Regions from separate parts of the Homo sapiens genome. Here all the other regions are linked to region 1. The links are contacts of gene promoters, found by promoter capture Hi-C in blood cells and fetal thymus (Javierre and others, 2016). All regions are on one chromosome and are shown on one strand. The core of a region is centred on a gene start or on the middle of the fragment in contact, and the rest is flanking DNA. Distances in the headings are between cores, read along the strand shown.

Evidence for each region. Contacts are between HindIII fragments. The CHiCAGO score rates a contact against its expected background, and 5 or more counts as called.
Region 2: a fragment that was not itself captured here is called in contact with the fragment with the promoter of SNW1 in region 1 in 1 of 17 cell types (neutrophils); the score reaches 5.3 in neutrophils.
Region 3: a fragment that was not itself captured here is called in contact with the fragment with the promoter of SNW1 in region 1 in 1 of 17 cell types (M2 macrophages); the score reaches 5.1 in M2 macrophages.
Region 4: a fragment that was not itself captured here is called in contact with the fragment with the promoter of SNW1 in region 1 in 1 of 17 cell types (endothelial precursors); the score reaches 5.8 in endothelial precursors.

Annotation. Positions count from the first base shown.
Region 1 is chr14:77,759,589-77,762,414 of GRCh38, forward strand. It overlaps SNW1 (SNW domain containing 1), which reads right to left and starts at 1,568. Exons shown (of 14, transcript NM_012245.3): 1 at 1,526-1,568. The coding sequence starts at 1,539. SLIRP-OT1 (SLIRP overlapping transcript 1) reads left to right here and starts at 1,180. Exons shown (of 2, transcript NR_161324.1): 1 at 1,180-1,528. RefSeq lists enhancers at 758-1,532, 1,440-1,759, 2,307-2,826. The HindIII fragment of the contact is 7,128 bases long and covers 1-1,886 here.
Region 2 is chr14:77,093,407-77,096,220 of GRCh38, forward strand. No RefSeq gene overlaps it. Among named protein-coding and RNA genes, the nearest start is that of CIPC, 3.4 kb to the right of the region's middle. The HindIII fragment of the contact is 1,194 bases long and covers 695-1,888 here.
Region 3 is chr14:78,562,640-78,565,439 of GRCh38, forward strand. All of the region lies in intron 4 of NRXN3 (neurexin 3), which reads left to right. Among named protein-coding and RNA genes, the nearest start is that of NRXN3-AS2, 150 kb to the right of the region's middle. The HindIII fragment of the contact is 5,632 bases long and covers 1-2,800 here.
Region 4 is chr14:78,605,019-78,607,735 of GRCh38, forward strand. All of the region lies in intron 4 of NRXN3 (neurexin 3), which reads left to right. Among named protein-coding and RNA genes, the nearest start is that of NRXN3-AS2, 100 kb to the right of the region's middle. The HindIII fragment of the contact is 1,161 bases long and covers 772-1,932 here.

The DNA of each region.
Region 1 (2,826 bases), core at 318-2,817:
TCCACAAAGTCTCCCCTCATAACTTTACTAGTCTATGACACAGTGTCTCACACCTGGGGAGCACTCAAATGTTTGCTGCCTGTAACATTTACTAAACAAACTCTTGGCTGGGCATGGTAGCTCATGCCTGCAATCCCAGCACTTTGGGAGGCCTAGGTGAGAAGATTGATGGAGGCCAAGAGTTGGAGACCACTCTGGCCAACGCAGTAACACCCTATTTCTAGTTTTTTTTTAAAAAAATTTCAGATGCCGGGCATGGTGGCTCATGCCTGTAATCCTAGCACTTTCGGAGGCCGAGACAGGAGGACTGCTTGAGGCCAAGAATTCAAGACCAACCTGGCCAACACAGCGAGACCGCATCTCAAAAAATAAAGTTAAAAAAAAAAGCAAAAAAATTTTAGAAACGAGGGTGGGGAGAAAACTCTCCAGCCCACATAACTTATTCCATTCAATTCTTTTTGCACTAAGGTTAGTATTACACAAATGCACATTTTGTGTTCTGTAATTGTTTTATGTCTGTATACCTTGCACCCCTATCTTCCCTGTTGCCAAAGACAGATTTTCTTCTGTGTACACAACCCCCAGGACAGAGCAAGGCACCAACAGTAATTCCCAAAATAATTTTTTGATTAAAACTTTTGGAGTCATACTGTCATCAGCCAGAAAAAAAAACATGCGTGAGGAGAATGAAGGGTGTTAAAAGAGCTCAAGCTGATGTCCTGAAAGGATTACTTTATCTATAACCTTCCTGAACACTAGCCTTTTCCTGTTGAGTTCGCATGGAAAGTTTTTCCACTTAAAATGGGGCAGCAAGGCTGGGAACTAGTAGGAGTAGCGTAACTTCTCGGACTCTCCCACTGAAAAGCATCTTTTTCTTAAAGGCGGAGAGCACTTTACAGACGGTTACTAAGGTAACCGGAAACAGCAAAACTGAGGTGGTTCTATCTACGGAAGAAATTCTAAGCTCCAAAGTTAAAATGCGGAGCAGTGGCGCATATCAGCAGACGGCGGTCACTACTGTGGCTCATTTAAATCTGTGTTCAGCTCCGGGCCTCTTTTTTCAGGAATCCTTGTTTCGGGACACCCAGTGGACAGCGAAAGGAGAGAGACCACCACAGGCAAACGGCCGGAAAGCCGCGCAGTCGCAGCCCGCGCGCTTCACTCCGCCCAAATAAGCCACTACCGTCACCAACCCCATCTCGTTCGCCCGAGCCGCGGACCTGAGGGAGCGCTGTCCGCTCCCCGCAAGATGCTCACGCGAAAAACCCACTCTTCAGTGTCTGAGACCACTCCGCAGCTTTCGGCCTCGGTGAGCGGGTGAACTAAACCCGGGAAACCGCTGAAAGACCCCAGCTTCGACTAGGCCTAGTCGTAGCGGCGGCCAGCGGGAGGGCGTAGCCGTAGTCTTGGCCCACGTCATTCTGTGCCCCGGGTCAGGTCACCGCCCGGAGGGTATGGGAAGAGAAATGAAGAAGACTGGTACTCCCAGACCCTTCCGTATCGAGGACCCCAATCAACAACCCACCTGGTGAGCGCCATCTTCTTCCGCTTCTTCCAGCGCGAGCGACAGCACCGCTGGGCGGGTCTTTCCAGATGATGAGGAGCGGAAAGGAAGGAGTGCGCGATGCGCAGGCGCTCTGGCCGAAAAGGCCTTCTGGGATTTGTAGTTCTTTGAACAGGAGTACCGTTTGTATTCTGACCAGACCAAGCGGTTATCAAGGAATAATCTCTTCAGCTAGCAACAAATGCATAACTCGATCGCTTATATGCGACATGATAGGGCGTTCCCTAGGCAAAATATCAAAGATACAGGGAGATGCCTTTTAGGCCGCTTTATTACGTTCCTTACTCAGTCCCGTTCCCCGAGAAGGGGTACAAAATACAAAAGCTTCCCGGGGACAGCTACTTTAAGTAAGAGTGATAGGGCGTTTAAAACGACAGGTAATAATGAGACTAGCTAATGGAGAGTCCTTGGACTCTCTGAAAACATTCACACTCAAAACTTTTCTTTAAACCATATCCTCTCACCCGCCAAAACACTCTCTTGGGGAGATATTTCGTAATCCTTGGTAATTTACCGAGTGTCTGGGTTCTCTGCCCAGGGTATGACAAGGCTGAAATCTCATAGGAGGCTCTGGAGAAAAATCCATCTCCTAACTCATTCTTGTTGGCAAAAATCAGTTCCTGGCGGTTGTGGGATCGAGTTCCCTGTTTTGTTTTGTGCTGTTAGTGGTGGCCACCCTCAGCTCCTAGGGGTCACTCTCGAGTCCTTCCCACATGAGCCCTATTTATTGGTAGTTCACAACATGGATATTTGCTTTCTGAGGCACATCTTTCTGACTCCTCTTCTGCCACTGTTGGAGAAAAATGCCCTGCTTTTAAAGGGCTCATGTGATTAGATCAGGAGCACCTGGATAATCTCCCTATTTTAAGATCAACTCTTGGCCGGGCGCAGTAGCTCACACTTGTAATCCTAGCACTTTGGGAGGTCGGGGCGGGCGGATTGCCTGAGCTCAGGAGTTCGACAAAGCCTGGGCAACATGGTGAAACCCTGTCTCTACTAAAAATACAAAAATTAGCTGGGCGTTGTGGCGCGCTCCTGTAGTCCTAGCTACTGGGGAGGCTGAGGCAGGAGAATCGTGTGAATCAGGAGACGGAGGTTGCAGTGAGCCAAGATCACGCCACTGCACTCCAGCCTGGCGACAGAGTGAGACTGCGTCTCAAAAAATAAAAATAAATAAATAAATAAATAAATAAATAATATAAAAGAATAGCTGGGTGTGGTGATGTGCTCTTGTTTTCTCAGCTACTTGGGAGGCTGAGGTA
Region 2 (2,814 bases), core at 42-2,541, 670 kb before region 1:
ACCCATCTCATAGACAGTGGGAGGATTAAATGAATAAATGTAGGCAAATCACTTAGGACAGCATCTGGCAAATAATAAGCACTACGTGTTGTTATGGAAGAATTTGTCTTGGGTTCTAGAGTATCTTGGTGTCAAGCAATTCCTTAAAGGAATTTCAAGTATCAGCAAGAAGACAGAGGGCTATGTGGGAAGGGTTTACACTGTCTCTAAAATCAAAACCTTCACCTGTATATGAACAGCCTGACCATAACCTGAATATTACCCTTTTAGTGTACCTGCTCTGCCAAATACTTCCCTAAAATATGAGCCAAGAACCAGTCTGGCTGGTGAGGGCCTTGTTACCTGACTGCTAAGGGAAAAAAGGTCATACATCCCACTATCACTGGCCTCTGCCTCTGCCATCTGGCACCTGTAGATCCCCCTGCCCACACAGGCTGGAGCCCCTCTCTTCTCTCACTGACCCATGAGACACACTTACCACTCCATCAAATCCTATTTAAAGACTTATGAAGTGATCAGCACCAATAATGCTAGATGCTAGATTCAAACTACAGGATAACTATTTTACAGACGGCCAAACTGAGGTTCAGGAAAATGAAATCAATGGTTCCCAAACACCAGTCCAAGAACTGTTGCCAGTCCTTGTGGTGATGTTTTCACCAGTCTTCAGCCAAACTGGAAAAATAAGACTAAAAGCTTTAAGTTTTTCATACACCCGAAATTATTCTATTTTTAAATTGTGAGGTTATGTCCTATCTTCCCTTCTGTGTATACGGAAAAGATATCAAAATGACCCTTCTTTTGTAAAATGATATTGATAGGAGCTGGAATTTGAAACTAGATCACTGACTTTCACCGTCTCCTATTACACTATTTTAATTACTTCTAAATTTTTTTTTTTTTTTTTTTTGAGACGGAGTCTCGCTCTGTCACCCAGGCTGGAGTGCAGTGGCACAATTTCAGCTCACTGCAGCCTCCGCCTCCTGGATTCAAGCAATTCTCCTGCCTCAGCCCCCTGAGTGGCTGGGATTAAAGGCGCATGCCACCATGCCCAGCTAATTTTTGTATTTTCAGTAGAGACGGGGTTTCACCACGTTGGCCAGGCTGGTCTTGAACTCCTGACCTAGTGATCTGCCCGCCTTGGCCTCCCAAAGTGCTGGGATTACAGGTGTGAGCCACTGCGCCTGGCCCACTTTTAAATATTTTTAAATGACTTTAATTTTAAATTCAACAATTATTAAACAATCGTTTATAAATATTTTAAATTGTATAACATAATACACTTAAAATATCTTCAAATAAAACTCGGCCCATGGCTGACTCTTCATGGTATCCTAGGCAGGGTTAAAAACTCAAATCCTCACACGGATAGGCAGGTTACAATTTCAAGAAGTAGATGGGAAAAAAAAAGAAACATTCGCAAGTCCCTAAATGTAGGATTTAAGGGCGCATGTCTCCCCCTGCTGGTTGTGGTGGTAGGAAACCGAACCTAGACCACAATGGTACTGGGGAGAACTTGAATTGGAAAGGACCCTACAGCAAGAAGAATAGGTGCTTCAGAACCCACTATCCATCACAGGGTCCTTACCCCATCCATCATAGGGTCCTTACTCCAACCAAGAGTAAAGAGAGTAAAGTGAGTGAAGGTTAAAGAATTCGTGGCACCAGTAAACTATCAATAGATGCTGATTTACAAATCTTGGTAAATTAATAGGAAAGGAAGAAAAACGTTTACGGTGGTTTAGCTACATAAAAATATTCACTATCAATCTTCATGAATTGCTTATTCTGTATATCTAATTATATAGAATCATAGCATAAAATAATCATAAAAATTATGCCTATCATTAGTCTTGATTCATTTGGTTCCATTACAATACTTGTCTGAAGCTTAAGTTATTGGTACAGCATGGCTGTCTGCTCAAGATGTAGGTAAAGTCAAGGAAGTTTGGTTTATTTGCCCCTTCGGAGGACTAAGAGGGCCTCATGCTTTCGCATATTTCACTGATTCTTTTTTGCTTGGTATGCATTATCCCCTCACCTGCTTCCATTATTGCAAACCCAACTTTCAAGCTGTCTTTAAAGCTTTACCTGCTGGTCTCTTTCTACTCCAACAACCGAAAAAGAAAGTTTTTTTTTTCTCCCTTAATGTTATTGTTTTGTTCAGAATCTTTTGGTAGTTATCCCATTCTCTTTCATATTGCTTATTACATCATGTCTTATTTCCCATATCAGATTGTAAGTTATTTGAAGGCAGACTTTTATTCTTTTTTTTTTTGAATTTTATTTTTGTTTTGTTTTTTATTTAAGTTCAGGGATACGTGTGCAGATTCGTTACATAGGTAAACTTGTGTCATGGCGGTTTGTTGTACAGATGATTTCGTTACCCAGGTATTAAGCCTAGTATCCATGCTGCTGTTTTTTAAATTTTTTATTTCCATAGGTTTTTGGGGAACAGGTGGCATTTTGGTTATATGAGTAAGTTCTTAAGCGGTGATTTGTGAGATTTTGGTGAACCCATCACCTGAGCAGTATACACTGCACCCAATTTGTAGTCTTTTATCCCTCACCCCCTTCCCACCCTTTCCCCTTGAGTCCCCAAAGTCCACTGTATCATCCTTATGCCTTTACATCCTCATAGCTTAACTCCCACTTATGAGTGAGAACATACGATGTTTGGGTTTCTATTCCTTAGTTACTTCACTTAGAATATAAGTCTCCAATCTCATCCAGGTTGCTGCAAATGCCATTAATTCATTCCTCTCATAGTTTATTTATTTGCCCCTTCGGAAAACTAAGATAGGACCACACCTC
Region 3 (2,800 bases), core at 59-2,558, 800 kb after region 1:
CAGCTTGCACATCCTGCCCAGGCTACAATGGACTGTAACCACATGAGAGGTTCCAAGATTAAACCACTCAATTGACCCCAGCCAACTCATAGCACCATGAGAAATAACATTGTTTTAAGCCACTATATTTTGGAATAGTTTTCTTAAAAATATAAAGTGATAGATAACCATAATAGAAATTTGTGCTAGAGGAAAATCCTTAAGACTCTTGAAAGCCATTTTGTCTAACAAAGAGTGTAAATAAGATATGGCCTTAACGATCCTAAGTAATTTTTCTAGTTAAGAAATAACTGTAATCAGTTGAGTGTTTTTCCACTTTATGTGACTTCAGTTGAGGCTGCAATCATTTGGTGTCTGGATGAGATGGGACATCCAAGGTACCTCATTCACATAAATAGCTGGCAGTTGATGAGATAACTCAGCCAGAGAGAACCTATGCATGATCTCTCCATGTGACCAAGGCTTCTCACAGGATGGCAACTGGGTTCCAAGAAGGGCTATCTGAAGAAAAACTATTCTTAGAAAACCAGGCAGAAAAAATAAAATTTCTTATGACCTAGCTTCAGGAGTCATTCATTGTCACTTTTGCTATATTTTGTTGATCAAAAGCAAGGCAAAGGGCTCTCCAATATTCATCGATTAGGGGACTACACAAAGGGAAATATTAGGAGTCATGGTTTATTGGGGGGCTATCTTTGGAGACAAGCTACCTTGATGGATAGAGAAATGATAACGGAAATAGGTTTGATGAAAAACGTGGTTAATCTGAATTGCAGTAGGTCTGATGGTTGGTTGGCAAGTTGTCCTTATTCTGGTGTATGGGTGAAGGGAATAAGCAGTGAGTTAGCTCTTACCTAGATCCATCCCCTAGAAAGTAACTGTGTCCAGTTATCAATGGGCAGGGCTTGCTGGGCGTTAAGCACAGGTAACCTCTAGTCTTTTACTATGTTTCTGCGACAGTGGCATAAAACAGCTTTTTAATGAGACCTACTGAGATGCACTGACAGATCTCTTCCTTTCCTTTTGTGTCTAGCCCATCCACCTTCATGTAAATGATTTATCAAGAAATAAGACCTAGGATTTTGAGATGGGTACATAAGAGCAAAAGAGAACTAGGATGAGATCATTCTCTTTTGCCTGCCCTTCAGCATTCTCAATGCAAGCAGGTTGGGGTTCTAAAGGAAGAGCAGGGATGACTGGAACCCTATAGCAGTGAGTCTGAGGAATGGGATCATGGGGGACCCAGAAGGAGGAAGCAGAACTGGAAGATGTTTCCATTCTGTGAAAGTGGCTTTTGGCTTTGAGGCAGCAACAGTAATATTTCATGTCTTCCGTGGTGTCTCCTACCTTTAAATGTCAGTCTCTGCAGCTGCCTTATCTCCTGTAGCACATTTCAATTAGGTATTCCAAATTATACTCTTTTCTTCCAGGACAAATATGCCAGAGGTGATATTTACTGTTACAGCAGCATTTAAAATACTTAGGGGGAAAAAATCCTAGTGAATAGCAATTTCTCCCTTATAATAATAATAAAGCACAATAATAATGGAGAGAGGAGGTGAATTCTGGCTTTGATGCCAATAACTGGCTGACTTAAAGTGAACATCTTTTGTCTCCGCCCTCTTTTGTCCCCCTCCTCCTATTCCCGCCTCAGTGTGAAGGTTATAGTGTTTGGCTCTGTCAAGAGCAACCTCACACATCTTCTTCACTGGAGGCTCACAAATGCTCCTCAGAATGTCTATTTAACTATCTCTAGGTAGGACTGGGCTCTGACTGGGCTCCTACTTCACCCATTACCTGTTTCTTCCTTTGTCCTGAGAATGTTTGCATGAAGCCAGAATCTCTGTTTGTTTAGAAATTTACCAGGCACCACTGCTTACTCCTCACCTATGGGACATTGTAGGTCCTGATGGAACACCCCGGCCTCCTCTCTAGGAGGTATATGGGTTAGAAACTTATGTATTGTACCTTTCCTTCTTGGAATCAAGTCCTTGGCCTGGTAATGAAGGTCCTTCGATCTGGTCTGCATTTTCCAGCTCCATCTCCTACTAATCTTTATATCCTTATCTACTGTTTCCCTAGGCTGTTGTCTTCACGGCCGCCATGGTAGGTTTTGCCTATCATCCCAAACCTTGTGCAGGCCTACCACAGTACTTGACATATGGTGGGGGTCTCAGTCAGTATTCTCCCCTATATTTAGAACCCTTCCACTAGATCTTGTCTTCATATTTTTGATTCCTGCTCAGGGATCAGATTATGTTCCATGTCCTCCACTGAGCCTTTTCTGACCTCCTCAGCGCACTCAGTGCCGTTCCCTCTCTGAATTTCTAAAGTGCTCAGCAGCAGCAGCACTCATTTGGCACTTGGTATATACTATCTTATGCTATTTTGTATGACCATATGTTGTCTATACAACTACATTATAAGCACCTGATAGGGATAACTGTGCCCTGTGTGTTTTTCCTATCCCTTTGATTCTAAGATAGTTCCTTGAACATTGAAGATGCTCAGTTAATATTCATTTATTAAGTAGATAGATCAAGGAGTAAATGAAAGCAAGGATCCTAAGAAGCCTGCCTTTTGGTGCCAATCTATTCAATTTGGAATTCACAAACTTACCTAAAACAAGGCCTTTCAATTTCCTGTTTCCCCTGTAAACAGAGCTCTACCACCAGGATTTCTCAGAAGCTCTTTCTCCACACTGAACCCTAAAACTGAAGGTTCAGGTAGAGAGCTTTTCCAGTGTGAGAGAATTTTTAAAGCATCTGGGGTTTGGCACATCCAGTGCTTTGAAAATCAA
Region 4 (2,717 bases), core at 102-2,601, 850 kb after region 1:
ATTCAAAGATTTTTCTCAGAGAAATTTTCCTAAAGGCATGATTCTAAAGAGATCTAGTACAAGGCAAAGGATTTCGATTTTTTTTCCCCTACTACTTCCTCATCTCCACCCCACAAGTTGACCTGGAGTCATCTTTGGTCCTTTTGAGTTTTAAGTCATCATCTTCCCTCAGGCTCAAGAGGAAGCCTGCTGTATTTTGATGAGACAACTCACCTTTGATGTCACAGTTTTCACTCTTCAAGAACAAGGAGTCATTAGTATCTTGACATCTAACTGTATAAGTTAAAGCACTTCCTGGAAGCTCAAAGGGAAACACTGAACTCTTAACACACAGATTCTGCTGGAAGTAAATGACTCTGCCCTATAAAAGGAGGAGAAAGAAATTCTATTTGAGTAATGCCGTTGAAATATTAAAAGAAATTCAGAGGGAAAAATATCCAAGTGAATAATATATATTGGATCTCTGGCCTCTAATTTGACATTCAGGTCAGATCAAAACTAACCCTGTGAGATTCTGGAATTTAATGTCATATAAAAATGCTACTGGGCAAGGAACTTTATTACACATGATCATAAAAATATATGGGAGGCGCCATCTCTGGGTATTTTTCTATCAAATCTTTACTCATTTTACAGTCTTTACAAACAGAAGCCAGAAGTGCTATATTTGAACATCTACATTTGTTGGGATTTCTTTAAAAAAAATAAAACAAAAAGAAGAATCACATTTTATACGTGTTAAATGGTGTAGTAGTAAACCATGTTTAAAAAAGCTTCAGTTTTCATTGGTGTACAAAGCTGCTACATGTAAATATTGGAACCACTTTTTAAAAGAGGATTGCTGCAGTCAGATTTTTTAAAATAATAAAATAATCACAAAGTTCAACATATGGTGTCTTCATGTGATTATAAGTGTGCGAGTGTGTATACATGTTTTTAATTCCTTAGGATTAGCAGAATGACAAAATGTGTGAAGAAGGATAGATGATGGTTATTTCAAGCAGCACAAGAATTTGAGGAGGAGGTGGAGACTAAGAAGAGAGAGGAAAAAAAGATCAAGCAGGACAAGGGACATGGGTACAAGACTAGAAGAAAAGCTGGATTTCTTTAAACTAGAAAAATCAAAGACATCTGTTCCCCTTATGGCAATAACCACATTTTTCTAGAAATTTACACATTAACATCTAAAAATGGATTTGTGCTAAAAATACAAGCTATGCTCAATGCATGACTCTTGAATGACTTTCCCCTATGATTCCTCTGTAGTCATATGGCAAGGCCATGCCCTCATCTGACATTTTTTTTAGTCAGGAAATACCAACTTCAGTTTTCTTTGATCATGTGATTTCCTTGGCCTGGAAACTCTTCTCTGTCTTTCCCCCTAACCAACTCTTACTCATTCTTCTAGACTAACTCAGCTCTTTAATCACTGAGAAAACCTTCCCTGCCTATCTTTGTCCCTTCCTTAGTTTTACTGAATTTGCCTGCCCTGTACTCTGATAGCACATTGTATTTAAATAAACACTTACGGTCTCTCCCGCTAGGCTGTGAACTTCTTAAGTGAAAAGCCATGTTTTATTGAAATCTATATTTCTGGAACCTAACACAGTGTCCTAGATGCTCGATAAATATGTTTTGGACTAAAATATGCTGCTAGTTTAATGCTCCAGTTCCTGATGAAGCCAGGGCTTTCTTTCCCAGGAGACAGTCAACTCAGGGGGCATGTTTGGTTTAGTACCTGCCAGCGTGTTGTTGACAAACACCATATACTCTCTGTTGCAAAGCCAAAACATGACCTTTTCCACAAATGGAGTAAGCGTTTATTGGGGAATAAAAAAGTATGATGATTGTTTTTAAGTAACGTATAAACCTAAGTGTCTCAATAGAAATTGTGAGAAATATTTATTTACTGCGAGAGAAACATTTTCCTTAAGCTTTCATTGTTTTAGGTAGTCTTCGTTTTCCTGTTCCCCATCCTCCTAGGTTGAATTCCCTGATTCTGGCTGGCATGCTCATAATTTCTATGATCACAGCCCCATTGTCTGTTGGAGCTGAGGGCATTGTAAGTTTTTGTAAGCAGCCTTTGATAAGTTTTAGAGGTGTAGAGAAAGAGCTCTGTCTCCTCCCTGGGAGAATACTCCTTTCCCTACACCTCAGAGGACCAAATCATGTCTTTATTAATATGAAGCATTCATTCCAGTGGCATATTTTATTCATTACAAGAGGATCAGTAGTTTGAGCAATCAGAGATGAATTCTAATATATGGAATCCTTTCCCGCTGAGCTTCCATGAAAGCATTTGATCCTTTTTGGCCTGCCCCCTTTGAGCTGGCTCCTTTATTAATCCTAAAGGACCAAGGTGTAAGAACTCAGGCAGGACAACTGTCTCTTTAGGCAAACCCAGGCTTTGATCCGCTTCCCTGACACAGTGATCTCACCTCCTTTGGCTCAGTCCTCTCCTTCGTCATTGGCCCAGCTATGAGTCTGGAAGTCCCCACAGTGCCTTCTTTGGGTCAATACTATTATCGTGCACCTGCTATTTGCCTGGTGCTGTGCTAGAGACTCAGGATACAGATGTGTAGAGGGAAGAGTGTTTATTCTTGTGACCTTATCATGGAGAGCTTTCAGATGAGATTTATTCCTACCAAATTTATTATTTGAGTGAAACTGAACAGTTCCATTCTGATAAGTAAGGGAAGAACCAGGCATACTATGTT